2 separate regions of the Homo sapiens genome follow, and region 2 is linked to region 1. The links are contacts of gene promoters, found by promoter capture Hi-C in human tissues and cell types (Jung and others, 2019). All regions are on one chromosome and are shown on one strand. The core of a region is centred on a gene start or on the middle of the fragment in contact, and the rest is flanking DNA. Distances in the headings are between cores, read along the strand shown. Region 1 holds the start of RBM15B (RNA binding motif protein 15B). Region 2 overlaps DOCK3 (dedicator of cytokinesis 3).

Region 1 (2,807 bases), core at 184-2,683:
GGTCAAACTCTCGGGCCAGAGCCGCCAGTGACGTGTTAGGTCCCAGGCCACCCACCCAGAGACGAGTGGTGGGGTTGGCCTTGCCATAGCCTATCTTAATGGGGTTGCGACCAATCACTCGGCCCGACATGGCCACCTTAGCCCTATGGGCCATGTCCAGGTTCTGGAACTTGAGGAAGGCATAGGCACCGCCCTGGCCACGGGCAGGCCTCTTGATGACCACCTCCTCGATGATGCCATATTTCTCGAAGGCCCTTCGCAGCTCCACCTCAGATACGCTGTGGTCCAGGTTACCAATGAAGAGGTTGCGCGTGGCCCGCTGGTCATCCTCGGGCATCAGGTCCTCCTCACACACAGCTGGGTAGCCATAGGGGCGCCCACGGTCGTCGTACAGCCCGTAGTAGTCCAGGGCCCGCTCCCGGGACAGTCCCACGGCGGCGGCAGCAGCGGCATCCAGGGCGAAGGCTGCGGCGGCGTGACGGGCACGGGGCTCCCGCAGGGGCGGGGCAGCGACGGGGGACAGCGAGCGCTGCTTGTACTGGTAGCCTCCGTGTAGCGGGAGGTAGCCGAGCGGGTCGGCGGGCGCGGGCGGCCCTGGGGGAGGCGTGGAAGCGGCGGCGCTGCTGCTGCTACTTCGCCGACTGCTCCCGCCGCCGCCACGCAGGTACACGGGCTCTACCTTGAGCGGGCGGTCGTAGAGCAGCAGCTGCCGGGCCAGGGCGTGCTGGCGGGCCTCGCGTGCGTCCTGTGGGTGCCGGAAATTCACGTAGGCCACACGGCCCAGCTCAGGCGTGTGCGACAGGCGGAGGCTGATCTCGCCGAAGCGCTTGAACTGGTGGAAGAGCCGGTCCTCGAGGTGCTCGGCGGGCAGCGCGGGGCTCAAGCTGCTGATGAGCAACGTCTTGTACTCAGGCGCGGCCGCGGATGAGCCGGGACACGCGGGCTCGGCCCCAGGCGGTGGCGGAGGCGGCGGCAGAGGAGACGCGCGGGGCGACATGCCGGAGGCGCCCGGGTCCCCCGAGGCCTTGCCGCCGCGTCCCCCGCCGCCAGCGCCGGAGCCCGAGGAGCGCCCGCTACTCGCGCGGTGATTCGCGTCCCCGGTGCCGCGGCCGTCGCGATGCCCGCCCCCGCCGCTTCCGCTGCCGCGGGGTTTGTCGCGGGCCCGCGCTGGAACCGGGTGCTTGGCGCCGCCAGAGGCCTTGTGCGCCGCCCGCCGCCCGCCCGCCTCCGCCTCCCGTTCGCGCTCCCGCGGACGCTTGGCGGACGATGACGAGCCGCGCCCGCTCGGGCTAGAGTCTCGCTCGCTCTGCCGCTTCATGGCGCTGGCGCGGCGGGCGGGCGGCCCGTAGGTTTCTCACAGCGGCGGCGGCGGAGGCGGCGGCCGAGGAGGCAGCGCCCCCGGCGCCGCCATCTTGGACAAAAGGACTCGGCGCGGCGGTGGCGGCGGGGCGGGGCGGGAGCGGCGCCGAGGGGCCGGGCATTGCGTTATCAAGGTGCGCCGTCCTGCCACGTGACTCTGCGGCGGGCGGAGCAAGACCCGCGCCGGGCCTGCCTCATCGCGCTGCGTCGCCCAGTGCCAGGTGACCCTGTGAGTGCTGGGTGAGTGGGACCGGCCGCGCGCTCTGGCGCCACCGCGCGGCCCGCATGGCCGATGCTTGAGGCTACGCGGAGTGTAGTGAACCCTGAGAGGCCGGCGAGACGACCTAACGCTTTGTGCTCCCAGCCGTGCTTTGCCGCTCTGGGTCCAGCTATCTCCTCTTGCAGGCACTGGAGCCCGCGCTGATTGGAGCAGGAGTGGCAGCTTCCATGGCCGTTGGGATCTGGGGCATTGACCCAGTCAGTGGTCTCTTTATGTAGTATCCCCTCAGTCCTAGGACTAGGCTTGAGCAAACCCCACATCACCCTCGTTGGCATCTCCTGCCTGGGATCCGGCGTTGACGGCGCCAAGGACTAATGCATGCCTATCCTTAGACCCTGCCCAGGACCCAAGGCCCACATTCTGCGCATTCTCCACGTGCAGGTTCACCTGCAGCAGTCCCCGAAAAGGCCGTGAGGACAATTGCTGTCACGCAGGTAATAACCGAAAGCAGAGACAAGCCTGCAGTTGCAGTTGATGGAGTTGGAATAGACTCTTTAACGCCACTCTTGGGTCCCACCCTCTTCTGTGGGCAGATAGCAGGCTGGAAAGGTAGGGCCGTAAGAGCCAAGGATGAAGAGGCCATATGCACAGATAGTGCCAGCAGTTATCACACCTTGCCACGCTGACCCCTCGCTGGCCAGTACCCTCCTGTTCATCACCTTCAGGACGACCTCTTCTCCCCAGGTGAGGTGAGGGAAAGGGTGCCCAGGTGCTCAAGCCCATTGAGGAAGCTTTCATTCTCCAAGGACAGTTGCTGGAGCCATGGTAGAACCTGACCCAATTTCTGGCACAGAATCCTTGCGATGGGGAAGAGCAGACCAAGTCATGCCCTCTTCGCACAAAGAGAAAGCAGCTCCTGGAGTAGCTCAGGCAGGTGCAGGGGGAAAGGTCTTGGAAGAAAGCAATGGGTTCCACAGCAGCAAGGCCTCCTACAGGCAAACTGAGCTTAGGAGACACAAGTGAAGTGATCTGAGGCAAGACCAATTACTTGGAAAGCACTGGTTCTTAGTCCGTCCTTTCAGGTGGTTTCTACAGGTGTCTTCATTGAGCCACAGCTCACACTAACAACTGGGTTTCCTAAGCACCAGTGCCACAGAGAGTGGCTTAAGAAGCAGACTCCAGCAAAACCCTGGACCTCAACTGTTAGACTAATCTAGGGTAAACAAAG
Region 2 (2,837 bases), core at 296-2,795, 470 kb after region 1:
GAGATACCTCCCAGTAAGGGCTGACTGACACCGAATACAGCCAGGTGCCCCTCTGAGATGAAGCTTCCAGAGGAAGGATTGGGCAGCAACATTTGCCGTTCTGCAATATTTGCTGTTCTGCAGCCTCCGCTGGTGATACCCAGGCAAACAGGGTCTGGAGTGGACCTCCAGCAAACTCCAACAGACCTGCAGCTGAGGGTCCTGACTGCTGGAAGGAAAACTAACAAACAGAAAGGACATCCACACCAAAACTCCAGCTGTATGTCACCATCATCAAAGACCAAGGCAGATAAAACCACCAAGATGGGAAGAAACCAGAGCAGAAAAGCTGAAAATTCTAAAAATCAGAGCACCTCTTCTCCACCAAAGGAATGCAGCTCCTCGCTAGCAACGGAACAAAGCTGGATGGAGAATGACTTTGACGAGTTGAGAGAAGAAGGTTTGAGACGATCAGTAATAACAAACTTCTTCGAGCTAAAGGAGGATGTTCAAACGCATCGCAAAGAAGCTAAAAACCTTGAAAAAAGATTAGACGAATGGCTAACTAGAATAAACAGCATAGAGAAGACCTTAAATAACCTGATGGAGCTGAAAACCACGCCACAAGAACTACGTGACACATGCACAAGCTTCAGCAGCCAATTTGATCAAGTGGAAGAAAGGGTATCAGTGACTGAAGATCAACTGAATGAAATGAAGCAGAAGAGAAGTTAGAGAAAAAAGAGTAAAAAGAAATGAACAAAGCCTCCAATAAATATGGGACTGTGTGAAAAGATCACTTATCACACTTATTCCAAAACTGACCACATAACTGGAAGTAAAGCACTCCTCAGGCAAACGTAAAAGAACAGAAATTGTAACAAACTGTCTCTCAGACCACAGTGCAATCAAACTAGAACTCAAGATTAAGAAACTCACTCTAAACTGCTCAACTACATGAAAACTGAACAACCTGCTCCTGAATGACTACTGGGTACATAACAAAATAAAGGCAGAAATAAAGATGTTCTTTGAAACCAATGAGAACAAAGACATAACATACCAGAATCTCTGGGACACATTCAAAGCAGTGTGTAGAGGGAAATTTATAGCACTAAATGCCCACAAGAGAAAGCAGGAAAGATCTAAAATTGACACCCTAACATCACAATTAAAAGAACTAGAGAAGCAAGAGCAAACGCATTCAAAAGCTAGCAGAAGGCAAGAAATAACTAAGATCAGAGCAGAACTGAAGGAGATAGACACACAAAAAACCCTTCAAAAAATCAATAAATACAGGAGCTGGTTTTCTGAAAAGATCAACAAAATTGACAGACCGTTAGCAAGACTAATAAAGAAGAAAAGAGAGAAGAATCAAATAGATGCAATAAAAAATGATAAAGGGGATAACACCACCAATCCCACAGAAATACAAACTACCATCAGAGAATACTATAAACACCTCTACACAAATAAACTAGAAAATCTAGAAGAAATGGATAAATTCCTAGACACATACACCCTCCCAAGACTAAACCAGGAAGAAGGTGAATCCCTGAATAGACCAATAATAGGCTCTGAAATTGAGGCAATAATTAATAGACTACCAACCAAAAAAAGTCCAGGACCAGACGGATTCACAGCAAAATTCGACCAGGGGTACAAAGAGGAGCTGGTACCATTCCTTCTGAAACTATTCCACTCAACAGAAAAAGATGGAATCCTCTCTAATTCATTTTATGAGGCCAGCATCATCCTGATACCAAAGCCTAGCAGAGGCACAACAAAAAAAGAAAATTTTACACCAATATCCCTGATGAAAATCGATGCAAAAATCCTCAATAAAATACTGGCAAACCGAATCCAGCAGCACATCAAAAAGCTTATCCACAATGATCAAGTTGTTCATCCCTGGGATGCAAGGCTGGTTCAACATATGCAAATCAATAAACATAATCCATCATATAAACAGAACCAAAGACAAAAACCACATGACTATCTCAATAGATGCAGAAAAGGCCTTTGACAAAATTCAACAGCGCTTCATGCTAAAAACTCTCAATAAACTAGGTATTGATTGGATGTATCTCAAAATAATAAGAGCTATTTATGACAAACCCACAGCCAATATCTTACTGAATGGGCAAAAACTGAAGCATTCCCTTTGAAAACTGGCACAAGACAGGGATGTCCTGTCTCACCACTCCTATTCGACATAGTGTTGGAAGTTCTGGTCAGGGCAATCAGGCAGGAGAAAGAAATAAAGGGTATTTAATTAGGAAAAGAGGAAGTCAAATTGTCCCTGTCTGCAGATGACATGATTGTATAGTTAGAAAACCCTATCATCTCAGCCCAAAATCCCCTTAAGATGATAAGCAACTTCAGCAAAGTCTCAGGATACAAAATCAATGTACAAAAATCACAAGCATTCCTCTACACCAGTAACAGACAGAGAGCCAAATCATGAGTGAACTCCCATTCACAACTGCTTGAAAGAGAATAAAATACCTAGGAATATAACTTACAAGGGATGTGAAGGACCTCTTCAAAGAGAACTACAAACCACTGCTCAACGAAATAAAAGAGGACACAAACAAATGGAAGAACATTCCATGCTCATGGATAGGAAGAATCATATCGTAAAAATGGCCATAGTGCCCAAGGTTATTTATAGATTCAATGCTATCCCCATCAAGCTACCAATAACTTTCTTCACAGAACTGGAAAAAACTAAAGTTCATATAGAACCAAAAAAGAGTCCGCATTGCCCAGACAATCCTAAGCCAAAAGAACAAAGCTGGAAGCATCACACTACCTGACTTCAAACTATACTACAAGGCTGCAGTAACCAAAACAGC

The links. Contacts are between HindIII fragments. The study calls those that stand out against the background at their distance.
Region 2: a fragment that was not itself captured here is called in contact with the fragment with the promoter of RBM15B in region 1 in 1 of the 25 tissues and cell types used here (H1 embryonic stem cells).

The regions. Positions count from the first base shown.
Region 1 is chr3:51,389,911-51,392,717 of GRCh38, reverse strand. It overlaps RBM15B (RNA binding motif protein 15B), which reads right to left and starts at 1,433. Exons shown (of 1, transcript NM_013286.5): 1 at 1-1,433. The coding sequence starts at 1,318. RefSeq lists silencers at 820-879, 990-1,069, 1,110-1,589 and an enhancer at 1,910-1,959. The HindIII fragment of the contact is 5,063 bases long and covers 1-2,807 here.
Region 2 is chr3:50,919,144-50,921,980 of GRCh38, reverse strand. All of the region lies in intron 4 of DOCK3 (dedicator of cytokinesis 3), which reads right to left. Among named protein-coding and RNA genes, the nearest start is that of MIR4787, 250 kb to the right of the region's middle. The HindIII fragment of the contact is 3,259 bases long and covers 1-2,837 here.